Regions from separate parts of the Homo sapiens genome. Here all the other regions are linked to region 1. Evidence: promoter capture Hi-C in 16 types of primary human blood cells and fetal thymus (Javierre and others, 2016). All regions are on one chromosome and are shown on one strand. The core of a region is centred on a gene start or on the middle of the fragment in contact, and the rest is flanking DNA. Distances in the headings are between cores, read along the strand shown.

Evidence for each region. Contacts are between HindIII fragments. The CHiCAGO score rates a contact against its expected background, and 5 or more counts as called.
Region 2: a fragment that was not itself captured here is called in contact with the fragment with the promoter of PSMD12 in region 1 in 1 of 17 cell types (monocytes); the score reaches 6.5 in monocytes.
Region 3: a fragment that was not itself captured here is called in contact with the fragment with the promoter of PSMD12 in region 1 in 3 of 17 cell types (erythroblasts, megakaryocytes and naive B cells); the score reaches 7.6 in erythroblasts.
Region 4: a fragment that was not itself captured here is called in contact with the fragment with the promoter of PSMD12 in region 1 in 8 of 17 cell types (megakaryocytes, naive CD8 T cells, M1 macrophages and 5 more); the score reaches 9.6 in megakaryocytes.
Region 5: a contact is called between a fragment that was not itself captured here and the fragment with the promoter of PSMD12 in region 1, in 14 of 17 cell types (naive CD4 T cells, total CD8 T cells, naive CD8 T cells and 11 more). The highest score is 21.7, in naive CD4 T cells.
Region 6: a contact is called between a fragment that was not itself captured here and the fragment with the promoter of PSMD12 in region 1, in 8 of 17 cell types (naive CD8 T cells, naive CD4 T cells, megakaryocytes and 5 more). The highest score is 7.8, in naive CD8 T cells.

What each region holds. Positions count from the first base shown.
Region 1 is chr17:67,365,250-67,368,871 of GRCh38, reverse strand. It overlaps PSMD12 (proteasome 26S subunit, non-ATPase 12), which reads left to right and starts at 2,295. Exons shown (of 11, transcript NM_002816.5): 1 at 2,295-2,460. The coding sequence starts at 2,353. RefSeq lists enhancers at 2,090-2,399, 2,420-2,479. The HindIII fragment of the contact is 3,672 bases long and covers 1,614-3,622 here.
Region 2 is chr17:67,103,996-67,107,378 of GRCh38, reverse strand. HELZ (helicase with zinc finger) reads left to right here. Exons shown (of 33, transcript NM_014877.4): 31 at 1-210. Among named protein-coding and RNA genes, the nearest start is that of CACNG1, 61 kb to the right of the region's middle. The HindIII fragment of the contact is 4,509 bases long and covers 1-3,383 here.
Region 3 is chr17:67,798,301-67,802,076 of GRCh38, reverse strand. No RefSeq gene overlaps it. Among named protein-coding and RNA genes, the nearest start is that of BPTF, 25 kb to the left of the region's middle. The HindIII fragment of the contact is 4,398 bases long and covers 1-3,765 here.
Region 4 is chr17:67,748,013-67,751,627 of GRCh38, reverse strand. No RefSeq gene overlaps it. Among named protein-coding and RNA genes, the nearest start is that of SNORA38B, 9.2 kb to the right of the region's middle. The HindIII fragment of the contact is 6,806 bases long and covers 1-3,615 here.
Region 5 is chr17:67,668,193-67,671,846 of GRCh38, reverse strand. It overlaps PITPNC1 (phosphatidylinositol transfer protein cytoplasmic 1), which reads right to left. Exons shown (of 9, transcript NM_012417.4): 7 at 2,184-2,339. Among named protein-coding and RNA genes, the nearest start is that of NOL11, 48 kb to the left of the region's middle. The HindIII fragment of the contact is 7,066 bases long and covers 1-3,654 here.
Region 6 is chr17:67,860,396-67,863,724 of GRCh38, reverse strand. The region is part of intron 2 of BPTF (bromodomain PHD finger transcription factor); the gene reads right to left. Among named protein-coding and RNA genes, the nearest start is that of BPTF, 37 kb to the right of the region's middle. The HindIII fragment of the contact is 3,407 bases long and covers 1-3,235 here.

The DNA.
Region 1 (3,622 bases), core at 1,046-3,545:
GGAAGAGGGAGACACCAGCATGTAATTGCAATGCTAAACAGCCTGCCAGGCAACAAGCCCACACAATAAAATATTGTCCCACATTCCATCAGACTTTTGAATGTCCTACCAGACACTTTCTTCTGTGTCTGAGGCCTAGACTCTAAGTCAATTTTACTTACGACAAGCTACTTTTCTTTCACTTTTAACATCAACTAAAATTTCTAAGAATTCTTCCATGAGAAAAACAATGGAAGATTATATGTTGATATAGTCAGAACTTTATTTCAGCGTGTCATGGATTATAAAGTTTCTTTGTTTATTTATTTATTTATTTTGAGACAGGGTCTCGTCTGTCACCCAGGTTGGAGTGCAGTGGCGCAATCTTGGCTTACTGCAACCTCCACCTCCCGGGTTCAAGCAATTCTCCTGCCTCAGCCTCCCGAGAAGCTGGGATTACAGGTGCGTGCCATGACGACTGGCTAATTTTTGCATTTTTAGTACAGACGGGGTTTCGCCATGTTGGTCAGGCTGGTCTTGAACTACTGGCCTCAAGTGATCCACCCACCTCAGCATCCCGAAGTGCTGGGATTATAGGCATGAGCCATAAGACCCATCTGATGGACTATAAAATAAAAAAAAAACAATAAGAGCTTTACCAAGAAGTGGCTTGTTGCTCACCATTTTGGAAAATGTCACCAACAATAGGCCCTTACCATGCTTCAGGAACCAAGAGAACACACCTGTTGCAGTTGCAGCTTTTACATTTATAGTTATTGTGTATGGGTGTAAATAACTACTTCCTTGTATTTTCCACTGTAGACATGTTTTAGCCCTTATCTCTTGAAATATATATTATTTTGCTATTTTAAAATTTGTTTCTTGGTTGGGCACAGTGGCTCACACCTGTAATCTCAGCACTTTAGGAGGCCAAGGTGAGAGGACTGCTTGAGGCCAGGTGTTTGAGACCAGCCTGGGCTACGTAGTATAGCTGCTATCTCTACAAAAATAAAAAAAAGGTAAAATTTGTTTCTCCTCTACATTACAGATTATAGCTGAGATATTGTCTTATTTTGCTTGTAGATGGTTTATATTTTCCCTGATTTTCATTGCAGTTAAAACAAACAAAGAGATCTATTCAGCATCTATAAAGCGATGTCGGCACTAATTAAATTGAGAACCACTAACATAATAGATAAACCACTCCAAGATTTCCCGTTTTCCTGTTTGCTTTCCAGGCTGCTGTTGACCATATGCCCACACCAAACACAACCTCATTCCCATTTTCTTTACTTTTCTTTTTCTTTTTTTTTTTTTTTTTTGAGACGGAGTCTTGCTCTGTCGCCCAGGCTGGAGTGCAGTGGCGCAATCTCGCCGGCTCACTGCAAGCTTCGCCTCCTGGGTTCACGCCATTCTCCTGCCTCAGCCTCCCGAGTAGTTGGGACTACAGGTGCCCGCCACCACGCCCGGCTAATTTTTTGTATTTTTAGTAGAGACGGGGTTTCACCGTGTTAGCCACGATGGTCTCGATCTCCTGACCTCATGATCCGCCCGCCTCAGCCTCCCAAAGGGCTGGGATTACAGGCGTGAGCCACCGCGCCCGGCCTCATTCCCATTTTCAAGGATCCTAAGCTTTTTTAAGATCTCAAGCTATTTTCTAGGGACCAGCATGGTATGAATGATAACACATAAAACGTGTAAGGCCCTTAAGAATTGAAATTGTCTCACATGTCATCTAGTTTGATGCTCACGAAAATCCTATAGGGATAACAAATATGTCTTTTTAACTTTTCTTTTTACCAACTTAGTGGATTACAGTGAAAATGAAAACAAAGAGAAAAACCACTTTGCTTATTAAATGACTGAGCTGCTGCCATATCTTCTCTTAGGAGCTTTCAGAGATCCCACAGAGTAAGCCACCAAGATTCTCAAGTAGATAAAACCTTAGAATTTTCTATTTTAAGGTTTATTTTAGCCTCCTGATGTAGAGATGAGAAAACCGAGATCCAAGAAAAGCGACTGGCCACGGTCCTGAGAAATCATATTTCGAAGCAGGGGTGTAGGGATATATGAGATGGTCTGTTCTATTACACTCGCTTTTCTCATCGCAAATTTTAGGTAAAAAGTCTGATGTTCCCAGAGACAAAACCTGACGCTGCAGGCTGGAGTGGCGAGTCCCGCCCCGCGCGCCTCAAGCCCCACCCCCAGGCTGTCCGCGGCAGTGCCTGAGTGGCAACCAGCGCCGGGGACCTCGAGGGGTCCTTTGCGTGGGCTCCCGATGGGCTGCCTGAGCGGGTGCGCGGGCAACTTCCGGTGTGGGTGACGAGTGGTGGCCGAAGCAGGGGGACAGCAAGGGACGCTCAGGCGGGGACCATGGCGGACGGCGGCTCGGAGCGGGCTGACGGGCGCATCGTCAAGATGGAGGTGGACTACAGCGCCACGGTGGATCAGCGCCTACCCGAGTGTGCGAAGCTAGCCAAGGTGAGGAGAGGCCGGCTGGCTGTTGGCGGGCGCCAGGGGCTGAGTCACGGCGCGGAGCCTGCTTAGGCCTCAGGGGGCCTGCGGGCTGGAGCGTGCACCCCCCAATGCCTGTCCAGCCCTAGTTGGGCCTGCACGAGTGGGAGACCCCAGGTCGGCCCGGCCAGGGCTGCGGAGTACGCCAGCGCCTATAGCTTCCCAGACCCTCCCCAAAACAGATGGTCACTTCCCTCCGTGGGACTTAGGGCTCCGTTTAACTTTTTGCCGTTTCTTGGATGCTGTTTAAGTGATATTTACCTTAGTAGTTTCCCAGGGGTTAAGGCCGCTTCAGTATTAAGGCTAGATCAGAGAGTTTCGTTCTGTTGCTGTTGCTCAATCAATTTATGTCGTTACATCGTTTGTGGATCATGGCTATGTGCCTGGTCTTTGGCCAGGAGAAGGGGCAGGAAAGTGATAGTACGAAGATGACTAACACAGGACCCTGTCCTTTAGGAGTTGATGTACGTGATGAATTAGTCAAGTCATGCATGGTGGTGAGGGCCATACAAGGGGAAAGTGTTACTGGAACACCGAGAAGGAAGCTATGCATTCTTAATGGTGCCATAAGGGAAGGTTTTACAGGAAGGCTGACGTTTGTATTGGGTCTTGAGGAATTAGTAAGATTGAGGTGGGGTGGAGTCATTACTGAAGACGGAACTACAGAAGTAAAGACAAGTAGGCACTATAAGAGTTTAACGGGCTTTCCAAGAAACAAGGATGGAGAAAGGTGATAAAGTTGGTACGTATGTATATCTTAGGTTCAGTATGCTTGCTGAGGGGGAGCCACAAATTCATTAAGAGCTTTCTAGCAGCTAGCATCAACAAACATCAGTTACATAAGGGTGGGAAAACTCAGCCGCCTCCAATGCCAGACAGATAACAATAACTGATATTTGTTGAGTAGTTTCTGCAGTGTCAGGCACCGTGCTTACATGCACTAAGCCATTTGATCCTCACCTCAGCCCTATGCGATGGCTATTACTATTATCCTTATTTTACAGGTAAGAAAACTTGGGCTAGAAAAAGTTGAATCACATGCCCCAAGATCATACAGCTAGTAAAGTGGTGAAGCCAAGAAGCAAACCCAGGCAGACCGATTCTAGATTCTGGAGCTGGTGCCCTCACA
Region 2 (3,383 bases), core at 642-3,141, 260 kb after region 1:
GCACCTGATGGAGCATGGACTTTTGCTAACTTGCAACAGAATCACCTAATGGGGCCAGGTTTTCCCTATGGCCTACCTCCATTGCCTCACAGGCCACCGCAGAACCCTTTTGTACAAATACAGAATCATCAACATGCTATTGGTCAAGAGCCATTTCACCCATTGTCATCTCGAACAGTATCTTCTTCTTCGCTCCCTAGCTTAGAAGAGGTAAATGTCTTCTTATTTTCCTTTTGTTATTAGCTGATTGTGAAAAATATCAGTATTTATTGATTTGATAATAGGAAGGCACAGATCTTATTGAATTTAACAGCGTATTAAAGATAATCCTTTCTTGGGAATTATTTTAATTGCCACCCTCCTATTGTATTTCAGGTTTTGTAAAGTGGACACTTTTGTTGAAACATGAAGCCCCTTAAAAGTCTTTTATTGCTGTTTAAAGAAAATATTGAATATCTGAGGACTCTATTCAAGGAGCTTTGTCTTTTTTTAATCTGAGGAAATGGCTTTTAGTGATTCTTCTTTTCGCTTTAAGTTACATGTGTTAATTATAAATTTGTTAATGAGAACTTTCCAAAGATGCTGGCTTTTCAGCCAGTGCCAGCTCCAAGTGCTGTGCTCCTTCTCCTGCCACTCAGCCTGGTGCTTTGTTAGACCCAGGGACTCTGATTCCCAAATATCAGAATTTGCAGATTTTTAACATAAAATTGACTGTGCTAAACTAAGCATTTTAAGTTAAACTGAATTTTATCTTAAAATACTTAGATATTTCTGCCGGGTGCAGTGGCTCACGCTTGTAATCCCAGCACTTGGGGAGGCCGAGGCGGGCAGATCACGAGGTCAGGAGATCGAGACCATCCTGGCTAACACGGTGAAACCCCGTCTCTACTAAAAATAGAAAAAATTAGCTGGGCGTGGTGGCGGGCGCCTGTAGTCCCAGCTACTCGGGAGGCTGAGGCAGGAGAATGGCGTGAACCCGGGAGGCTGAGCTTGCAGTGAGCCAAGATATGCCACTGCACTCCAGCGTGGGCGACAGAGCAAGACTCTGTCTCAAAAAAAAAAATAAATAAATAAAGTAAAATACTTAGATATTTCTAAAGAGCATCTTTATGGACTTTTTTTTCCTATGAAAAACTTAGTAATTCCAGGTTATAAAACTTCCAAAGCAGTACCATGTGGTGTAGGCTACAAAAATGTCTAGCTGATCCCATTAAATTTGCAGTGATTAAAGATAAAAATGTGTAAAGCCGGTTGTAGTCATATCAGACAGAGACATCTTAAATCAGGATAAAGATTTCTAATTTTGATATATGAAAAATACTTTTTTGATATTAGCTTCATTTTGGCAGTTTCAGAATGATATCTAAAGGCCATTAGAAATAATTGATTCACATTTTACAAGTTGCCTGCTATAGATGCTAATTAAAAGTCAAGATTCATAGGGAAAGCTGTATGTCTTATTTGTAGGGATTTAGAGGCAGTCTGTTCAAATTGTCCCAGTATTCATTGATTGGCTCATTCTGTATAGCTGTCATTAAAACAACTTACTGTGATTTTAGGCTCTTAAAGTAAGTTAGAAGCACAATAAAGATGAATTGGTATCTACATATATGTATTGTGAGGATCTAGAATTTTGGAACCATACTTTACAAAAATTTGGCACACATCTGACAGTCTTTCAGATTATAATGAACAGTAGTTTTACAACTGATCAGTAATGTAATTTTCAGTTAAGTGATGTTTTAGCTATTTATAATAAAATTCACATAAAAGTCACCATTTTAGCCATTTTAAATTGTACAATTTGGTGGATTTTAGTGTATTCACAATGTTATACAGTCATCACTACTGTCTAATTCCAGAACATTTCATCACCCATAAAAGAAACCCCATAACTGTTAAGCAATTACACCCCAATTTCCCCACTCTCAGATTAGTAACCACTAATCTACTTTCTGTGTCTATGGAGACATTTCATAAAAATTGAGTCATACATTATGTGGCCTTTTATATCTGGCTTTTGAAGTGCATCCACACTGTAACTTAGGAGTGGAGTTCTTGGGTGATGTAGTAAGTCTATGTTTAACTTTTTGAGGAACTGCAAACTGTGTTCTCTGCACATTTATATTCCCACAGCTATGTATGAGGATTCCAATTTCTCTATATACTCGCTTTGTAAAAAAAATTATAACCATCCTAATGGGTGTGTAGTAGGATCTCATTGTAGTGTTGTTTGTTTGTTTTTTGACACGGAGTCGCACTCAGTCGCCCAGGCTGGAGCGCAGTGGCATGATCTTGGCTCACTGCAACCTCTGCCTTCTAGGTTCAAGCAATTCTCTTGCCTCAGGCTCCTGAGTAGCTGGGACTACAGGCGCCCACCACCACACCCAGCTAATTTTGTTGTTGTTGTTGTTGTATTTTTAGTAGAGACGGGGTTTCACGATATTGGCCAGGCTGGTCTCAAACTCCTGACCTCAGGTGATCCGCCCCCAGCCTCCCAAAGTGCTGGGATTACAGGCGTAAGCCACCGCGCCCAGCCCTCACTGTAGTTTTGATTTGCATTTCCCTATTTACTGATGATGTTGACATCTTTGCATGTGCTTCTTGGTCATTTGTATCTTTTTTGGAGAAATGTCTATTCATATGCTTCAGCCATTTAAAAAAATGGTTATTTTTTTGTTACTTAGTTATAAGAGGTTTTTTTTAATGTATTCTGGTACAGACTCTTAATCTCATATATGATTTGCAATTATTTCTCTCACTGTGTGGGTTGTCTTTTCACTTTCTTGATAGTGTCCTTTGATGCTAAACTACAATTTATCTATTTTTTTCTTTGGCTGCTTATGCTTTTGGTGTCATATCCAAGAAACCCTGGCCTAATCCAAGATGGCAAAGATGTACTTTTACATTTCCTTTTTATAGTTGTTTGTTTTTTTTTTTGAAATGGCGTCTCGCTCTGTTGCACAGGCTGGAGTGCAGTGGCGCCATCTCGGCTCACTGCAAGCTCCGCCTCCCGGGTTCACGCCATTCTGCTGCCTCACCCTCCGGAATAGCTGGAACTACAGGTGTCCACCACCACACCCGGCTAATTTTTTTTGTATTTTTTTTAGTAGATACGGGGTTTCACCATGTTAGCCAGGATAGTCTCAATCTCCTGACCTCGTGATCTGCTCGCCTCGGCCTCCCAAAGTGCTGGGATTACAGGCTTGAGCCACCGCACCCGGCCCCTTTTTATAGTTTTATAGTTTTACCTCTTACACTTGGTTCTTAGTTCTTTGGTCCATTTTGAGTTAATTTTTGTATATTGTGTGAGGTGGGTATCAAATTCATTCTTTTGCATGTGGCCATACAGTTTTCTCAGCACCGCTTTTGAAAAGACTCCT
Region 3 (3,776 bases), core at 317-2,816, 430 kb before region 1:
GTAGTCTTATAGCAGTCACTCCCCAGGACTGCGCCTTGCTTTGCTGATTGTCTGACTCCTTCGTGTTCAGAAAAGCAGACCCAGATCACAGAGGCAAGGAACAGAAGGCAGTCTTGCAGACATGCCTCAACCCGTTTACATAGATTGAATCCCTTGGCCAGATCAGTGGCCCAGAAATGAATGAATGGAATCTCTCAGACCACCTGCAGCTACCTGACTTACCTGACCCCTCCGCTAGGAGGTGCTCAACATAACTATGGGGTGAAACTGGCCAGGCTGCGGGACATGGGGTGATGAAAGTATGACCAGCCCTTCAATCTAGCCTGCTTGCAGTCTTTTTTTTTTTTTTTTTTTGAGACAGAGTTTTGCTCTTGTCACCCAGGCTAGATTGCAATGGCGCGATCTCGGCTCACAGCAACCTCTGTCTCCCGGGTTCAAGCGATTCTTCCATCTCAGGCCCGCCCTGCTTGGAGTCTTTTTATTAAAGATATCAGATGTGGCCAGGCGTGGTGGCTCATGCCTGTAAGCCCAACTCTTTGGGAGGCCAAGGCGGGTGGATCACTTGAGACCAGGAGGTCGAGACCAGCCTGGGCAATATGGTAAAATCCCGTCTCTACAAAAAATACAAAAATTAGCCAGGCACGCACCTGTAGTCCCAGTTGCTTGGGAAGCTGAGGTGGGAGGATGGTTCGGGCCCAGGAGGCAGAGGTTGCAGTGAGCCTAGATTGCACCACTGCACTCCAGCCTTGGTAACAGAGATCCTGCCTCAAACAAACCAACCCACCAAAGATGTCACATGTATCTTTGCCCTAAAAAACACTCAGTACATTTTGATCAGAAGAGTGTTTAAGCTGTGTCATGGAATAATTTTTTGGGAAGGCTGGATTTGGAAGTTTTATTAAGACATCAAGGTGTAATATTTAAAACCCAGATCACTCTGGACCTGGGAATGGAAGTTAAAAACAGATGTCAAGGCTGGGCATGGTGGCTCACGCCTGTAATCCCAGCACTTTGGGAGGCCGAGGCAGGTGGATCATTTGAGGTCAGGAGTTCGAGCCCAGCCTGGCCAACATGGTGAAACCCCGTCTCTACTAAAAATACAAAAATTAGCCGGGCATGGTGGTGGATGCCTGTAATCCCAGCTACTTGGGAGGCCAAGACAGGAGAATCGATTGAACCCAGGAGGTGGAGGTTGCAGTGAACAGAGATCGTGCCACTGTATTCCAGCCTGGGTGACAGAGTGAGACATATCTAAAAACAAAAAACAAACAAACAAAAAAACCCACAGATGTCAAGATAAGTGTTGAGCAGTTTAAGGAAGTGCAATGTTTTCAGGCTTGGGCAGTGCCCCTGCTCTCTTCCAGGGGCTGATAAAGCGTGCAGCCCAGCCTTCTGAGCTGTGACATCCTCTTCCATTGGGTGATGTTCTTATCCATTTGCCAGACTGGCCTGAGCCTCTGGCCAGCATTTCTAGACCAACAACAGGGGCGCCACCTCCAGGCCAATCCCCATAAGTGTAGTTTTGTGAGCCGGACTGACGTGGGTTATGTTCAGTTCAGACAGTGCGTTCTCAAGCAGAGCAAAGGGTCTGGGTTCCTGGATTAGGAGACCCCTTACCCCAAGCAATTCTAGAATCTAGGATTCGCCGGGTGCAATGGCGCATGCCTGTAATCCCAGCACTTTGGGAGGCCAAGGCGGGAGGATCACTTGAGCCCAGGAGTTTGAGGCCAGCCTGAGCAACACAGCGAGACCCTGTTTCTATAGAAATAAAAAAATTAGCTGGACGTGGTGGTGCACACCTGTGGTCCCAGCTACTGGGGAGGCTGAAGGAGGAGGATCACTTGAGCCCAGGACTTCAGGGTTATACTGAGCTATGATCAAGCACTGTATTCCAGCCCGGGTGACAGAATGAGACGATGTCTCTAAAAAAAAAACAAACAAAAATGGATTTCTTTGCTACCAGCTTCACTGTGTGCTTTGTTTCAGAGATTGAGAACTCTTTCCAAAAACTGACTTCCCTAAAGTCAGCCTAGCCTCATATCCTCAAGGCAAGCTCATCCAGCTTGTATCAAGAAGTCCCCAGCCTGGCCGGGGAGCAGTGGCTCACGCCTGTAATCCCAGCACTTTGGGAGGCAGAGGCGGGCGGATCACGAGGTCAGGAGATTGAGACCATCCTGGCTAACATGGTGAAACCCTGTCTCTATTAAAAGTACAAAAATTAGCCGGGCGTGGTGGCGAGCGCCTGTAGTCCCAGCTACTTGGGAGGCTGAGGCAGGAGAATGGCGTGAACCCGGGAGGCAGAGCTTGCAGTGAGCTGAGATCACGCCACTGCACTCCAGCCTGGGCGACAGAGCGAGAGTCCGCCTCAAAAAACAAAAAAGAAGTCCCTAGCTTTCTCAAGCTGGCAGGAGAAGGACACACAAAAAAGTCTTCAGCCTAAATGACTTACTCTCCTGTGACTCCACAGCAAGAAAACTGGATGATTAACGTCAGTGACCTCATGGTGAAGAAGACAGCATTGCTAGTGATCTAAGTGGCCTTCAAGGGGGGCATTCCCCATTACCTGACAGCTAGGAGTGCTTGGAGCACACTTGGTTCAGCTCATGCCTCCTCGCAGTCTTCAAAGAGTTTGCTTCCCGTATTTGTGAGCTGAGCAGCCTAAACTGTTTGGTAGATATCCTGCCAGCAAGACCACAATGGCAGGGGATGGCAGAGAAGTCCCGCATCCAAAGCACCGTGGCCTGGGAACTCTGCAGGCATGCCGGCTCTGTTGCTGTGAGTCTAAACAGTTCTGCAAGGCCATCATCCAGTTGGCTGAGATCCAAGCCTGCTCAAAGCTAAAAAAATGCACAGGATCGGCTGGGTGCGGTGGCTCACACCTGTAATCCCAGCACTTTGGGAGGCCAAGGCAGGCAGATCACGAGGTCAAGAGATCGAGACCAGCCTGACCAACATGGTGAAACCCTGTCCCTACTAAAAATACAAAAATTAGCTGGGCATGGTGGCATGCACCTGTAGACCCAGCTACTCAGGAGGCTGAGGCAAGAGAATTGCTTGAACCTGGGAGGCAGAGGTTGCAGTGAGCCAAGATCGCGCCACTGCACTCCAGCCTGGCAACAGAGTGAGACTCCATCTAAAAAATAAAAAAATAAGAAAAATGCACAGGTTCCTCCTCCACCAGTATAGCCATCAATGTCCTGGCAGTAGGAAACTGCGCATCAGTGCTGGGACTGGGGAGGACACTACTCAGTATGCCACTGGGCGTCCTTCAAAATCCTAAACATGGGCCCATGGAACTTTTGGTGGCCCTGTGGTCTAGAGATTGTCTCCCAAATTCATCAGTTCTTGAGTTATAGGTACACTGGATAAGGATAGACAGCAATGGTCCTAAAGGCTACTATACCCTCTCTGGGCCCTCTCCATGCCTGTGACCATCACACCATCATGGTACAGGAGGGAGTATCCTAAGATGTCACGTTTCATCCCCCGTACTGGACCTTTCCACCTGGTGCCTGGTGAAATGCGTCAATTAAGTTCTAGAGAACGCTCTGCTTCCTGACCACTGGGAAACACAGGACACCACCCGCCTTTATTCTGCAAAATTTGCATAGAGTTCACTACATTCCCGTGTCTAAAACACACTGACACATCAGCCATGGCCTCCATTCCTTGTACCTTCTAAATCATCAACCACCGTATAAGCAAACGGCTAGGACCTTAAGTGCTTGCACCTAAGGGATGCAGATCAGAATCATCTGAGAAGCTTTTAGGCCAGG
Region 4 (3,615 bases), core at 1,048-3,547, 380 kb before region 1:
TGGGCTTGCTGCAGGAGACACCCTGTCTACTCAGCCTGCTGGGCTGCACCTGGCTTGCACTCCAGTGCAGGTCCCATAGCTGCCACTACTGTGTGCTTAGCCCCTGGCAGGACGGGGTGTGTGAGTGAGGGAGTGTGGGGTCTGGCTGGCCGTTCCAAGTGCTGGCAGGGGAATGGGCTCCATGTGGGGCTTGTAGCTGGACCAGGCATGTCACAAGTGACTCCCATGGTGGACTCTGGCATCCAGAGGAGGGGAACACGGTGGCACCCAGGCAGGGGTGCCCATGACCCTGAAGCCCCAGAGGGGGTGTTACGGCATGCAAATTAGCTCTTTTAGTCCCTTTGTCCGCAGCCTGATGGACAATGCCATGTTAACAACACCATCAGTCCTGTTGCCCTGCTCTGGCCCAAGGCTCCAGGGCTGGCTTGGCCCTGCTGCTGCTTCCCATCACATGAGGCAGCTGCTCTCCACTGGTGGAGGGTGTACAGCCTTCTTTGTACCCGTGCTTGGTGGGTCCCAAGTTCTTATCCCCTGTCCAAGAAGAATGAGGTTATACTGACAATAAAGGGTGACGAGGGTGGAGAAGAATTTTAGTGAGTGACAAAACAGCTCTCAGTAGAGACGGGATGTGAGGGTGGTCCCCTACTCAAAGTCAGGTGGTCTCTCACTCAGTGTGGCTGGGTCTGGGGCTTTTATGTGCTCAGAATAGGGAGTGCTGATTGGTTTGTGGGTAAGCAAAAAAAGGCTAAAACAAAGGCACCACTCAAAGGTGGGCACGACAGTGTAATACACCAATTAGGGAAGGGTATATACATGTAAAACAGGTGCAGGGTGGGGATCAATCAGAGGAAAGTGTGCCAAACAGGAAGACAGTTTCCCAATCCAGTCTGTGGACTTACCCAGGACTTGTAGCTAGGCTTTAAACTGTCTTTGGCTTGAAGTTTGGGTTTCACTGGGGATCTGCCCCTGTCTGCCTAGGGTTTGTCTGCCTCCTGCTGCTATCACCTTGGCATCCCAAAGTACTGTGATTACAGGCCTGAGCCACCATGCCTGGCCAACTTTTGCTTTAATGGAAGGAAAAAAATATTCACAATGTGTTTTCCAGTAAAATAATTTTTCCTTTTTGTTTTTGGTGTACAACATAATCTTTTGATATATATATACCTTGTGGAATGGCTAAATCAAGCTAATTAACATAAATATTACCTCACATACTTATTTTTGCCTGTGGTAGAATACTCAACATTTATTCTCTTAGCAATTTTCGTGTATATAATCTATTAACCATAATCACCATAGATTTTGAAATTGCCTTTGCAGAAATTATAGTAGTAATGGAAGTCTGACATAACTGACTCCATCTTGCTTCTACCAGACTAAGTTGCTTTTGGTCATTCCATTTTTTTTTTTTTTCTTTTTGAGACAGAGTCTTGCTCTGTCACCCAGTCTGGAGTGCAGTGGCGGAATCTCAGCTCACTGCAACCTCTGCCTCCCATGTTCAAGCGATCTCCTGCCTCAGCCTCCTGAGCAGCTGAGATTACAGGTGCCCACCACCACACCGGCAAATTTTTGTATTTTTAGTAGAGATGAGGTTTCACCAAGTTGGCCAGGCTGGTGCTTTTGCTTATTTTTATGCAGAGGCCATAATAGTCCTTCCCTTGAACTAATCTCCTTTGTTCAAAAATTGAAACCAGCCAGGCATGGTGGCTCACGCCTGTAATCCCAGCACTTTGGGAGGCCGAAGCGAGTGGATCATGAGGTCAGGAGTTCGAGACCAGCCTGGCCAACATAGTGAAACTCCATCTCTATTAAAAATACAAAAATTAGCCAGGCATGGTGACACACGCCTGTAGTCCCAGCTACTCAGGAGGCTGAGGTGGGAGAATCACTTGAACCTGGGAGGCGGAGGTTGTGGTGAGCCAAGATCGTGCCACTGCACTCCAGCCTGGGCAACAGAGTGAGACTCTTGTCTCAAAAAAAAAAAAAAAAAAAAAGAAATTGAAACTGAGGCTGGGCATGGGGGTTCACACCTGTAATCTCAGCACTTTGGGAGTCCAAGGCAGGCAGATTACCTTGTCAGGAGTTCGAGACCAGCCTGGCCAATATGACAAAACCCCATCTCTACTAAAAATACAAAAATGAGCTGGACATGGTGGTGCATGCCTGAAATCCCCACCACTTGAGAGGCTGAGGAATGAGAATCACTTGAACCCAGAAGGTGGAGGTTGCAATAAGCCGAGATCACGCCACGGTACCCTTAGCCTGGGTTACAAACCGAGACCTGGTTAAAAAAAAAAAAAAAAGATAACTGTTGAAGCTGGGCGATATGTATGGTATTTGTTAAACTCTTTTTTTTTTTATGTTTGGAGTTGTCTATAATAAAAAGAAAAAGAAGGAACCTACACAAGTTTAAAATACATAATCAGTCTCTGTGAGCTAAAATTTTGTTGACTTTTTGCAGTTTTGTGTTTGTGTCCACCTTTCCTAGGTTTATTATACTATTTTATTGTACATGTCTCTTTGTGAAAGAGGCAATGCATAAATAAAAAGCCTATACCAAAGCTAATAGAAGACTTAAACTTCCTGATTTTCCTAAGGGAATCATGCACTAAACTTGAAAATAGTGCAAACTGAATTCTGTAGAGTATGCTGTTGCATATTATAAGCTATTGTCCAACCCAGTAATGTAAAGTAAAGAAATGGTGCATGTGGTCTATGCAAATCCAAGAACATTTTCTTCAAGTTTATTGTTCTCTAAGTGAATCTTATTTTATTGAGATAGTCTCACTTTGTTGCCCAGGCTGGAATGTAGTGGTGCTATCTCGGCTCACTGCAAACTCTGCTTCCCGGGTTCAAGCAATTCTTGTGGCTCAGCCTCCTGAGTAGCTGAGATTACAGGCATGTGCCACCACGCCCAGCTAATTTTTGTATTTTTTGTAGAGATGGAGTTTCGCCATGTTGGCCAGGCTGGTCTCGAATTTCTGGCCTCAAGTGATCTGCCTGCCTCGGCCTTCCCAAGGGCTGGGATTACAGGTGTAAGCCACTGCGCAAGCCCAAGTTTATTTTACTTCTTTCCTTTTTTTTTGTTTTTTGAGACAGGGTCTTGCTTTGTTACCCAAGCTGGAGTACAGTGGCACAAACATGGCTCACTATAGCCTCAACCTCCTGGGCTCAAACGATCATCTCATGTCAGCCCAAGTAGCTGGGACTACAGGCACGTACCAACACAACCAGCTAATTTTTAAATTTTTGTAGAGACAGGGTCTCCCCATGTTACCCGACTACTGTGGTAGTTACATTTCCTGAGCTTAAGTGATCTCCCTGCCTCAGCCTCCCGAAGTGCTTGGATTACAGGCATGAGCCACTGTGCCCTGTTGGTCCAAATTCATTTTGAAGTAATATAAAACATCTGTATATTAACTATCCCTTACCTGGTGTATAACCAAACAAACCAGAAGAAATAGATGCTGTCAGCTCTGTGGTCTGAACGTATTAAACAAAGCATAACAAATTTGGCACTGACAACCCAAAGCATATGAATTCATCCAGAGATGAAAAGTAGCCAAGGATAATTAGGTTCACATGAAATTAAATTTAGACAAGAATTTCAATTTG
Region 5 (3,654 bases), core at 627-3,126, 300 kb before region 1:
GGAAGACACTGCCTTAGATAGACACAAAGCTGAGGCTGGAAAACATTTACTTTGGGAGCTGCAATTGCTTTCCTGTGCAATAATCAGGACACAGGAGGAAAACAGGAGATCCTGGAGCTTGATTTCTACGTATCACATTTCATTCTGGCTCCTGGCTGGCTGGCTGGGTTCTGGAGCACGGGAAAGGAGTGGCATGCTTCTCTGTTCAAGAAAACACCCAGGGCTCTCATGTTTGTGCCAGAGTCTGCCATTACCGTGAGCCTGAGTTATGAGGGTTCAAGAGACTGGCAGTCTAGTTCTTGGACCTAAATTCCAGAATTAAACTTTTTATTGTTAACTGGCCCCCAATCTCAATAGACAAATCCATCTAAGTAACAAAAAGCTCAGTGCATTAAGGTTAAATTCCAGTGACTCCAAAATAATTTTGGCAAGCTACTCTTATCAGTTTTTAAGTGGAAAAATAAACAGATAACCAGCCTATCTGGAATGTAGAGACAATTTGGGTAGTATTTATTCTTATGAAAATGAGAGCAGCTACAAAGGGCAATGCTCAACATTGCATTTCCCATTTTTTTCTCCCATGAGGGACAGAGTCATGTTAGAAACCCTGAGAAAATATGACTCTTCACCAAGTGGGATTCTGCTACAAAATGAACATGCCGGCCGGGCACGGTGGGTCATGTCTGTAATCCCAGCACTTTGGGAGGCCGAGGCAGATAGATCAGGAGGTCAAGAGATCGAGACCATCCCTGCCAACATGGTGAAACTCCATCTCTACTAAAAATACAAAAATTAGCTGGGCATGGTGGCGTGCGCACCTCCCAGTAGTCCCAGCTACTCGGGAGGCTGAGGCAGGATAATCACTTGAACCCGGGAGGCAGAGGTTGCAGTGAGCTGAGATTGTGCCACTGTACTCCAGCCTGGCGACAGAGTGAGACTCCGTCTCAAAACAACAGCAGCAGCAACAACAACAAAAAACCAAAATGAACATGTTTAGCCAAAGTAGGTTTACAATTGAAATCTGCATCCCGAGGCTGTTAACAATTATTTGGTAACAGAATTATTCTTATTATTTCCTTTTTTTTTTTTTTTTTTTGAGATGGAGTCTTGCTCTGTCACCCAGGCTGGAGTGCAGCAGCACGATCTTGGCTCACTGCAACCTCTGCCTCCTGGGTTCAAGCAATTCTCCCTGCCTCAGCCTCCTGAGTAGCTGGGATTATAGGCACGTGCCACCACACCCGGCTAATTTTTTTGTATTTTTAGCAGAGACAGGGTTTCACCAGGTTGGCCAGGCTGGTCTCGAACTCCTGACCTCAAGTGATCCACCTGCCTCAGCCTCCCAAAGGGCTGGTATTACAGGCATGAGCCACCACACCTGGCTACTTTAGTAACAGAATTATTAAAGAAGCAGAAATGCTGGGGTATACTGTCTAATGGGACTATTGGGATTTCTTGTTCTACCTCTGGGCATCTTCTGCTTAGGTGCTTACATTTGTAGATCTTTTGGGTGGCAATTAACCTTAGGGGCTGTGCTCACAGATAAGCCCTTTGGCTGTTTCCCAAGTTTCTCTGTCTGGGAGTAGATGAGTCCAATACCAAACTGAGAAGTGTGTTTCCCAAATACGCTTGCCTAATAGACATGGAGGTCACAGAATGAGAGATGGGGCATAAAACATCTATTAGTGGAAGAAAATTGAACCTATGCATAAAATGCATTTTCATCCAAAAAGTATTTTTTATTTTTTTATTTTTTATTTTTATTTCTTATTTTTTGAGACAGAGTTTCTCTCTTATTGCCCAGGCTGGAGTGCAATAATACGATCTTGGTTCACTGCAATCTCTGCCTCCCGGGTTCAAGTAATTCTCCTGCCTCAGCCTCCTGAGTAGCTGGGTTACAGGCACCCACCACCATGCCCAGCTAATGTTTTTGTATTTTTAGTAGAGACAGGGTTTCACCATGTTGGCCAGGCCGGTCTTGAACTCTTGGCCTCAAGTGATCTACCCGCCTCGGCCTCCCAAAGTGCTAGGATTACAGGTGTTGGCCACCCCAACCGGCCCAAAAAGTGTTTTTGAGATGCAGTGACCTGATGTATTTGTGCACCTGTTGTGTATCATGGACTCCAATTTGGCAATATAGACAGTTACCTTGTCCACAGCCCAGGAACTGCTGTTGGACCACTTACCTTGTGTACAAATTGTTCCACTCTGGTCTGAAGCCCCCAGACCTCAAACTTCACAGTCACCAGCTTGTAGGAGCACATGATAGGCTGATGACTATCTCTCCAGCCTTCCCTCAACTGTCCCCGTCCTGTCTTCTCTGACTTGAAGTGCTTAGGATCCTAGAAAAAAAAAAATCAAAGAAATTGATATATTAAAAGTTTGACCATCATTATTAAATGTCAGGAATAAGTATTAAATAACATAGAAATAGGGCTGGGTGTGGTGGCTCACGCCTGTAATCCCAGCACTTTGGGAGGCTGAGGCGGGCGGATCACCTGAGGTCGGGAGTTCAAGACCAGCCTGACCAACATGGAGAAACCCCATCTCTACTAAAAATACAAAAATTAGCTGGGCATGGTGGTAATCCCACCTACTGCCTATCATCCCAGCTACTCGGGAGGCTAAGGCAGGAGAATTGCTTGAACCCGAGAGGCAGAGGTTGTGGTGAGCCAAGATTGCGCCATTGCACTCTAGCCTAGGTAACAAGAGCGAAACTCCATCTCAAAAACAAACAAACAAACATAGAGACAGAAAGTAGATTAGTAGTTGACATGGATTGAGGAAAGGAAGGGATGTAGAGTGATTATGAATGGATATAACATTTCCTCTTGGAGTGATGAAAACATTCTGGTATTAGACAGTGGTGACAGTTGCACAACCTTGTGCATATGCGAAAAACCACTGAATTGCACATTTATTTAAAAGGGTGAATTATATTGTGTCTCAATTTTTTCTTTTCTCTTTTTTTCTTTCTTTCTTTTTTTTGAGATGGAGTCTCGCTCTGTCGCCCAGGCTGGAGTGCAGTGGTGCGATCTCGGCTCACTGCAAGCTCCACCTCCCGGGTTCACGCCATTCTCCTGTCTTAGCCTCCCGAGTAGCTGGGACTACAGGTGCCCGCCACCACGCCTGGCTAATTTTTTTGTTTTTAGTAGAGACGGGGTTTCACTGTGTTAGCCAGGATGGTCTCGATCTCCTGACCTCGTGATCTGCCCGCCTCGGCCTCCCAAAGTGCTGGGATTACAGGTGTGAGCCACCGTGCCTGGCCTCAATTTTTTCTTTTCTTCTTTTGTAGAGATGGGTCTCACTATGTTGCCCAGGCTGGTCTCCAACTTCTCACCTCAAGTGATCCTCCCTTCTTGGCCTCCCAAAGTACTGGGATTACAGGTGTGAGCCACCATACCTGGCCTCACGACAGCTTTAAATACAGGAGGCAAAAACTGGAAACAGTCCAAATGTTCATAAGCAAGAAACTAGACAGATAAATTGTGGTCTAGGTGCACAATGGAATACTACACAGCAATGAAAAAGAACAAATGGCTGATACATGCAAAAACGTGTACAACTCTCACTGATGCTATGTTAAGCAAAAGTAGCCAAATGCAATAGCATATACATTGTATGATTCAAATTGAAGTTCAAGAACAAGCAAAACTT
Region 6 (3,329 bases), core at 283-2,782, 500 kb before region 1:
TGGAAATAGGGTCTTTGCAGATGTAAAGTTAAGGATCTTGAGATAAAAATCATCCTGGATTTAGGGTGGCCCCTAAGTCAAATGACTGGTATCCTTAGAAAAGGAGAGGACCCAAGGTGACACATAGAAAAGAAGGTAATGGGCCGGGCGTGGTGGCTCACGCCTGTAATTCTAGAACTTTGAGAGGCCAAGGCGGGCAGATCACAAGGTCAGGAGATGGAGACCATCCTGGCCAACATGGTGAAACCCCATCTCTACTAAAAATACAAAAAATTGGCCAGGAATGGTGGCATGTGCCTGTAGTCCCAGCTACTTGGGAGGCTGAGGCAGGAGAATCACTTGAACCTGGGAGGTGGAGGTTGCAGTGAGCCGAGATCGTGCCACTGCACTCCAGCCTGGGCAACAGAGACTCCGTGTCTCAAAAAAATGAAAAGAAAAAGAAAAGAAGGTAGCATAGAGGCAGCAACTGGAGTGATGTGTCTGTTTGTAAACCAAGAAATGCTAAGGACTGCCAGAAGCTAGGAGACAGGCATGGAACAGATTCTCTTTGAAAGTCTCCAGAAAAACCAACCCTGCTGACCCATGATTTCAGACTTCTGGCCTCCAGGACTGTGAGACAATAAATTCATATTTTTTCAAGCCACCCCATTTGTGGTACTTTGTTATGGTGGCCCTGGAAAACTCCCAACTTTTGGTACGGGAAGTGGGGTGCTGCTGCTAACATACTCAAAAATGTGAAAGTGGTTTTGGAACTGGGTAATGGGAAGAGGCTGAAGAACTGTTAGGTGCTTGATAGAAAAAACCTAAGCTGCCTTGAAAAGATAGTGACAGGGAGATTGGAATTATGCTGCCAGCAAGCCAAGGACACTTGGGGTGCTAGAAGCTAGAAAAGGCCAAAAAAAAAAAAAAAAGCAAGGATTTTTTTCCTAGAGCCTGCAGAGGGAGCATGGCCCTGCTGACACCTTTGAGTTTAGACTTCTATTCTCCAAAACTGTTAAATAATCAATTTCTACTGTTTTAAACTACCCAGTTTTATAGTACTTTTTTTTGGTATAGTACTTTGTTATAGCAGCTGCAGGAAACTGATAAAACTAGCAATTCAGCAATTAAAGACAAAAGCTAGGTCCTAAGCTCTTGGTCAAGCAGCCCAAGTAGTGCTTAGGAGCACACATTCTGGAGCCAGAATGCCTAGGTTCAAATCCCGATCCCACCACTTTGTAGTTGTGTGATCTTGGATAAATTACTTAAAACTCTCTATGCCTCAGTCTCTCCATCTGAAAAATAGGGTGACGGTACATATCCTGGAAGATGCTGTTGTTAGAATTAAATTAATTAAAATATATAAAGTGTTTAGAGTAGTACCAGCACTTCATGGGTATCATATACATAGTTGTCATCATTTTCCTCACCTTATGAAGTGTATAATATTTACCTTAAAACAAGTAACTAGGCCGGGCACGATGGCTCACGCCTGTAATCCCAGCACTTTCGGAGTCCGAGGCAGGTGGATTACCTGAGGTCGGGAGTCCAAAACCAGACTGGCCAACATGGTGAAACCCCATCTCTACTAAAAATACAAAAATTAGCCGGGTGTGGTGGCAGGCACCTGTAATCCCAGCTACTTGGGAGGCTGAGGCAGAAGAATCACTTGAACCTGGGAGGCGGAGGTTGCAGTGAAGCAAGGTTGTGCCACTGCACTCCAGCCTGGGCGACAGAGTGAGACTTGTATCAAAAAACAAAACAAAACAAAAAAACTATTGGTAGGATGGGTGTTTTAAAAAGTAGTATTTCACGATGCAAGAGAAAAAGGGGTTCAGGGAAAGAAAGGGGTGCAGGCAAAGAAATCCCTAGGAAGTAGCATAAATAGGCTGAGACCTCAAGAATGAGCTAGTTAGCCAACAGGTTTTTAGGTGCTTTGGTTTGCTTTTTATTTATGTTGTCTTAAGTGTTAGAAAGCAAGATAATTAAATGTACAAAGTTAGGGATCTGTGCTAAAGAATCTGAAGTTTTGGTTAAGGGCAAATGGAAGTAATTGTAATTAAAAGGTTTTTCAACTTAGGGGAAAAGGAGACTTGATCAAAATTGCTGTTTTAAAAATCATCCAGCTATGGCTGGGCATGGTGGCTCACATCTGTAATCCCAGCACATTTGGAGGCTGAGGTGGGCTGATCACCTGAGGTCAGGAGTTCAATATCAGCCTGGCCAACATGGTGAAACCCTGTCTCTACTAAAAATACAAAATTAGCCAGGTGTGGTGGCGGCCGCCCGTAATCCCACCCACTCGGGAGTCGCTTGAATCCAAGAGGCAGGGGGTTGCAGTGAGCTGAGACTGGGCCACTGCAGTCCAGCCTGAGTGAGACTCCATCTCAAAAAAAAAAAAAAAAGAAAAAATCTTGGAAGGTTGGGGTAGGGGGTTACACTACTTTAGGGGTGACTGACTAGTCTAATGAAGATGACACTGGCTTGTATCACGGAGGGACAGTGGGAATGGAGAGAAACTGATTCAATATTTATTTTAAAGGCATAGCAAACAATAAAGGAAAAAGTTTATTCTCATATTTCTAGCTTGAGCAGCTGGTGGGACAGTAATTCCATTTACTAAGATGAGAACGCTGGATGAAGAGTAGGTAATGGGGGGAAACGATGAGTTTGGTTTTAAACACGTTTGAGGTGCCTGCCTTGCGGACAGGTCCAGGAGTCTGCTGGACATACAGAACTGAACGTGGACAGAAGGAATTCAGGCACGGGAAGTCAGTAAGTTAATATGTGGTTTGTACCTAGAATGGGGAGTAGAAAGCTGTATAGATTTAAAAGCATAGTTTAGTTGATTCGGAAAATGAATACAGATTTTTAAAATGCTGTTTAAAGGCGTGTGGTGGTCCACGCCTGTTGTAATCCTAGCGCTTTGGGAGGCCAAGGCTGGAGGATCACTTGAGCCCAGGAGTTCGAGACCAGCCTGGCAACATAGTGAGACTCTGTCTCTGCAAAAAAATGAAATATAATGCTGTGTTCACGTAATTATATTTAGAATGGAGAGTGACAGAAAAACATGCTAATCTAATCTGGTAATTTCTATTTTAGTAGGTCCTAATTTCAGAGCAAAGGATTGACAGGATAAAAGCAATAGTTAAGAAAGATTGGCCCACTTACATAATGAATGAAAACTGGCCTCTGAGTTATATGCTGAATATGTCTTGGCTTCTCAGATGGACTATAAATTCATGTATAAGAAGCTTTTTTTATTATAAGCTTCACTAATCTATACAAATAACATATTTTTAAGCACTTATTAAATAAAAGCAATAACAGAAAACTTAATTTCTATAAAT